Regions from separate parts of the Homo sapiens genome. Here region 1 is linked to region 2. Evidence: promoter capture Hi-C in human tissues and cell types (Jung and others, 2019). All regions are on one chromosome and are shown on one strand. The core of a region is centred on a gene start or on the middle of the fragment in contact, and the rest is flanking DNA. Distances in the headings are between cores, read along the strand shown. Region 1 overlaps ZNF8-DT (ZNF8 divergent transcript). Region 2 holds the start of C19orf18 (chromosome 19 open reading frame 18).

The links. The method cuts DNA at HindIII sites, captures the fragments that hold promoters and counts their contacts. A contact is called where the count stands out against the background at its distance.
Region 1: a contact is called between a fragment that was not itself captured here and the fragment with the promoter of C19orf18 in region 2, in 1 of the 25 tissues and cell types used here (pancreas).

What each region holds. Positions count from the first base shown.
Region 1 is chr19:58,269,367-58,272,066 of GRCh38, forward strand. The region is part of intron 1 of ZNF8-DT (ZNF8 divergent transcript); the gene reads right to left. It also overlaps a transcript of ZNF544 not described here. Among named protein-coding and RNA genes, the nearest start is that of ZNF8-DT, 8.0 kb to the right of the region's middle. The HindIII fragment of the contact is 7,344 bases long and covers 1-2,700 here.
Region 2 is chr19:57,973,234-57,975,933 of GRCh38, forward strand. It overlaps C19orf18 (chromosome 19 open reading frame 18), which reads right to left and starts at 1,301. Exons shown (of 6, transcript NM_152474.5): 1 at 1,079-1,301; 2 at 866-970. The coding sequence starts at 1,199. The HindIII fragment of the contact is 10,862 bases long and covers 1-2,700 here.

The DNA.
Region 1 (2,700 bases), core at 28-2,527, 300 kb after region 2:
AGAGGTTGCAGTGAGCTAAGATTGTGCCACTGCACTCCAGCCTTGGGCGACAAAGCGAGACTCTGTCTCAAAAAAAAACAAACAAAAAAAATGTCAGGGTCGGGCATGGTGGCTCACACCTGTAATCCCAGCTACTTGGGAGGCTGAGGTAGGAGAATTGCTTGAACCCAGGAGGTGGAGGTTGCAGTGAGCTAAGATTGTGCCACTGCACTCCAGCGTGGGCGACAAAGCGAGACTCTGTCTCAAAAAAAAAAAAAAAAAAAAAGATGGCAGGGCTGGCATGGTGGCTCACGCCTGTAATCCCAGCACTTTGGGAGACCGAGGCAGGTGGATCACTCTAGGTTAGGAGTTTGAGACCAGCCTGGCCAAGATGGTGAAACCCTGTCTCTACTAAAGATACAAAAATTAGCCAAGTGTGGTGATAAATGCCTGCAATCCCAGCTACTCAGGAGGCTGACGCAGGAGTATCACTTGAACCTGGGAGGCAGAGGTTGCAATGAGTCTAGATCATGCCACTGGACTCCAGCCTGGGCGACAGAATGAGACTCTGTCTCAAAACAGAGCAAATGGCATGGCAGAACCTTCTCTAGAGAAAATAGTTTTGAATCTAAGAAAGGAATAGCTTTAATCTAGAAAAGGAATAGGGCAAGAAAAGGAATGTTTATTCACCCATAACTTAAAAAAAAAGGTAATTTTAATTGAAGGCTTCAAGGTAAATTGTGCTCAAACTATACAAATTCTGCTAGATGGTTATAGTTCCTATGTGAAGGTAACTTTAGAAAGTAGTGTTCACTTGACACTGATGTGAGTAATTCTTGCTGGAGGGGGCAAAAAGCTCATGAAATTTGAATAAAGGAGGAGGAGATGCAGTCAGATTGTTGATTGACCCTTCAGGGAATGGCATTTGCATAGCTGTGACGTGAACCCTAGGTATTGGCTTTTTTTTTCTTTTTTTTTGAGAAGGAGTCTCTGTTGCCCAGTCTGGAGTGCAGTGGCGCGATCTTGGCTCACTGTAACCTCCGCCTCCCGGGTTCAAGCAATTCTCCTGCCTCAGCCTCCTGAGTAGCTGGGATTACAGGCACGTGCCACCACGCCCAGCTAATTTTTGTATTTTTAGTAGACACAGGGTTTCACCATGTTGGTCAGGATGGTCTCCAACTCCTCACCTTGTGATCCGCCCACCTTGGCATCCCAAAGTGCTGGGATTACAGGGATGAGCCATTGCACCCGGCCTGTATTGGCTTTTAATTTTTAGGAAGTAACACATGGCTGTGACCTGACAACTTCATAGTGGCCGTAGGGTAGGGCACTGTTGTCATTATTCCTGTCACTGACAATGTCAGCCCCACCTGCAGATGTGGGAGAGTAGATGGGGAAAGTAGTAGTGGAGAGTAGAGGTTTCCCTTACCATCCTTTTAGGAAGTAGGCTTTTAAACATGATATGTAAGTTTATTTAGAAGATGAAAATTAAAGCTTGAAATGTAATATGAGAGGAATTGGCAGCGGATGTGAGTCAGATCCTCACCTGTCAGAGCAGGAAGTTAGTGAAAACTAAAGATGATTGGCTGGATGCGGTGGCTTATGCCTGTAATCCCAGCACTTTGGGAGGCTGAGGTGGGTGGATCACCTGAGGTCAGGAGTTTGAGACCAGCCTGGCCAACATGGTGAAACTCTGTCTCTACTAAAAATACAAAGATTAGCCCAGCGTGGTGGTGGGCACCTGTAATCCCAGCTACTCAGGAGGCTGAGGCAGGAGAATCGTTTGAACCCAGGAAGTGGAGGTTGCAGTGAGCTGAGATTGCATCACTGTGCTCCAGCCTGGGCAACAGAGTCAGACTCCGTCTCCAGGAAAAAAAAAAAAAAAAAGACTAAAGATGATCAAAGATTAGAATTACGGAGGTGTCCTCAAGAAGAATTGGAACAGATATGGTTAAAAGTGGCTGGAGGTGGGTGCAGTGGATATGGTGGTGCACACCTGTAATCCCAGTGCTTTGGGAGGCTGAGGCAGGTGGATCACTTGAGCCTAAGAGTTGGAGACCAGCCTGGGCAACATGGCGAGACCTGGTCTCTACAAAAAATACAAAAATTAGCCGGGCATAGTAGCACATACCTGAAGTCCCAGCTACTCAGGAAGCTGAGTTGGGAGGATTCTTTGACCCCAGGAGGTTGAGGCTGCAGTTAGCTGTTATTATATCACTGCACTCCAGCCTATGTGACAGTGTGAGACCCTATCTCAAAAAAAAAGTGATGTCGGGAGGCTGAGAGGATGAGTGACTGGGGCAGGAGATGAGTACTTTCCCTTTTAAGCCCATAGCATTTAATTCCCTGGTGGTTCACTTCTTATTTGGATAACTAACAAATTATTTCAAATGTGTGCCTATAGGTGAGAGAAGCAATGGTACATGAGGAGGTAAGCATTTGATTTGTGGGATTATGAACAACTGTCCTACTCTCCTTTTGATTCGGTGTCTCTGTATTAGTGATCTGACAATTTAAAAAATCAAGCAAGAGCAGGCTGGGCGCAGTGGCTCATGCCTGTAATCCCAGCACTTTGGGAGGCCGAGGCGGGCGGATCACTTGAGGTCAGGAGTTGAAGACCAGCCTGGCCGACATGGTGAAACCCTGTCCCCACTAAAAATGCAAAAATTATCTGGGCGTGGTGGTGGGTGCCTGTAATGCCAGCTACTTGGGAGGCTGAGC
Region 2 (2,700 bases), core at 51-2,550:
TTCCTCGGACACAAATTACATGCAAATGTATCACACAGACAGCATTTCCCTTGCATGGAATGGAGATTATTTACAAGCATCATATATCTCCACAAAGGGTTGCTGAGCTTCAAAGATTGTCGGGGTTGGTTTTGCTGTTATAAGATAAACAAACATCCTCTAGTACTCAAATTAGAAGGGAACCATAGAAAATGCTTATAAAGAATTCTCGGCTGGGCATGGTGGCTCATGCCTGTAATCCCAGCACTTTGAGAGGCCGAGGCGGGCGGATCATGAGGTCAGGAGATCAAGACCATCCTGGCTAACACAGTGAAACCCTGTCTCTACTAAAAATACAAAAAATTAGCTTGGCGTGGTGGCGGGTGCCTGTAGTCCCAGCTACTTGGGAGGCTGAGGCAGGAGAATGGTGTGAACCCAGGAGGTGGAGCTTGCAGTGAGCCGAGATCGCGCCACTGCACTCCAGCCTGGGCGACAGAGCAAGACTCTGTCTCAAAAAAAAAAAAAAGAAAAAAAAGAATTCTGTACACTCACAAACCTTCTGTGTCTAGACTTGCATGCTCTACTGCCAAATGTGCACCAAATTCAAGTCAGACAGGCATACCTGTGTAATCTGGATGGGATCAAGGTTTTTGTGTGCGCTTATTAAAGTGAAATGAAAAAGAGAAGAAAGTGGCAATCCCTAAAGAGAAAGCAGTTAACAGAGAGTGAAGAGCATAAGATCTAATTTCCAAGCAAATGTTTATCTAATTATACTCTATTTTATGGACCTTTCTACCAGCAAGCACACAGTACACATTCACATGGCAGATAAGAGGACTCCAGGCTACGATTCTCACTCCACTGAATGAGGAATTCAATGACTCACCCGTGGATCTCGAGGCAGCCCCTTGAATCCCAGGCAACTGGGTTTTATGAAAGAACACTTTGGGCTCTTTGGTGATGTTTCTGGGTGGTTGTGACCGTTTACTGCCTTGAAAAGAAAACTTTTTGCGGTGAAATGTAATTACCTTCTTTTTATCTCCCCTGAAACAGCTTTTCAATTCTCCCTGAGTCACATAAAACCAGTGGTTGAAGCTACCTGGTAAGCCTGTTATGTTTCCAGTGGGATGGAGTCCATCTGCATACGGCAAGCATAAATGAAGTTGGCATTCCATTAAAAACAAAAACAAAATGAGGAAACCACTCTGAACCTTGTCCATCACTCTCAAATTATCAGTATTTTATCCCGTAGATGAAAGGAAATACTTAGCTACAGTCCAGCATCTGTCCTCTATTTATCTGAGGAATCAAGAAGTTCTACTCCCTTCAGAATGTTTGGGCAGTGACTTGGAGCCACCAGTGTGAGGTCAGTCCTTGCTGTGATAATGGAGTTCCTTCATGGAACCATGCTGACCAATGGGGAGACTACAGTGTAAGAGGGCAGTGCTTGGAGGTGCAGGCATGATGAGACCAGGTCCCTGCCTGCAGTGTGCAGATTAGTGAGGAGGCAGAAAGAAATCAATTACAGTCAGCCCTCCGCATGCATAGTTCCCCATCCGTGATTTCCAACAACCTCACTTGGAAAATGTTCAGGAAAAAAGGAATGGGCACGGTGGCTCACGCCTATGATCCCAACACTTTAGGAGGTCAAGGTGGGCAGATCGCTTGAGGCCAGGAGTTCAAGACCAGCCTGGCCAACACAGTGAAAGCCCATCTCTACTAAAAATACAAAAATTTGCTGGGCGTGGTGGTGCACACCTGTAGTTCAAGCTACTTGGGAGGCTGAGGCATGAGAATCACTTGAACCCAGGAGGTGGAGGTTGCAGTGAGCTGAGATCATGCCACTGCACTCCAGCCTGGGCGACAGAGCAAGACTCTGTCTCAAAAAAATAAAACAACAAACACAAAAACAAAAACTAGCCAGGCATGGTGGCGTGTACCTGTAGTCCCAGATACTCGGGAGGCTGAGGCAGGAAGATCACTTGAGCCCAGAAGGCAGAGGTAGCAGTGAGCCAAAATCGTACCACTGCACAAAGAAAGAAAGAAAAGAAAGTGGAAGGAAAGCAGTCACCCTTAGAAGGGAGGCAATGTGCACAGGGGAGACCCACAGCAGGAAGGTAAAGGGGGACTCCTGATGACTGAAAGTGGGCCCTAGGCTTCAGAGATGGGAGGAATAGAAGACGGGCTCAAAAAAGGCAATGAACTATGTCATGTATGAGGGAGACAGAGGGGACCTGGGAGTGCTGGATGTTAGGGACCACTGAAATCAATACTGTCCAGGCTGTGCATGATAGGTGAGAGGAAGGGAATACTTCCAGGAAGAAGCAGAAGTCTGGGACTTTCTTTTGACTCGTGATGTGACCTGACCAACAGGAGGCCCTTTTTTTTTTTTTTTTTTTTTTTTGAGATGGAGTCTTGCCCTGTCACCCACACTGGAGTGCAGTGGCACAATCTTGGCTCACTGCAACCTCCACCTCCTGGGTTCAAACGATTCTCCTGCCTCAGCCTCTGGAACCGCTGGGATTACAGGCATCTGCCACCACACCCAGCTAATTTTTGTATTTTTAGTAGAGATGGGCTTTCACCATGTTGGCGGCCAGGCCAGTCTCGAACTCCTGATCTCATGATTCACCCACCTTGGCCTCCCAAAGTGCTGGGGTGACAGGAGTGAGCCACTGTGCCCTGCCAGGAGGCCCTTTAAGACATTAAAAAAACTCTTAT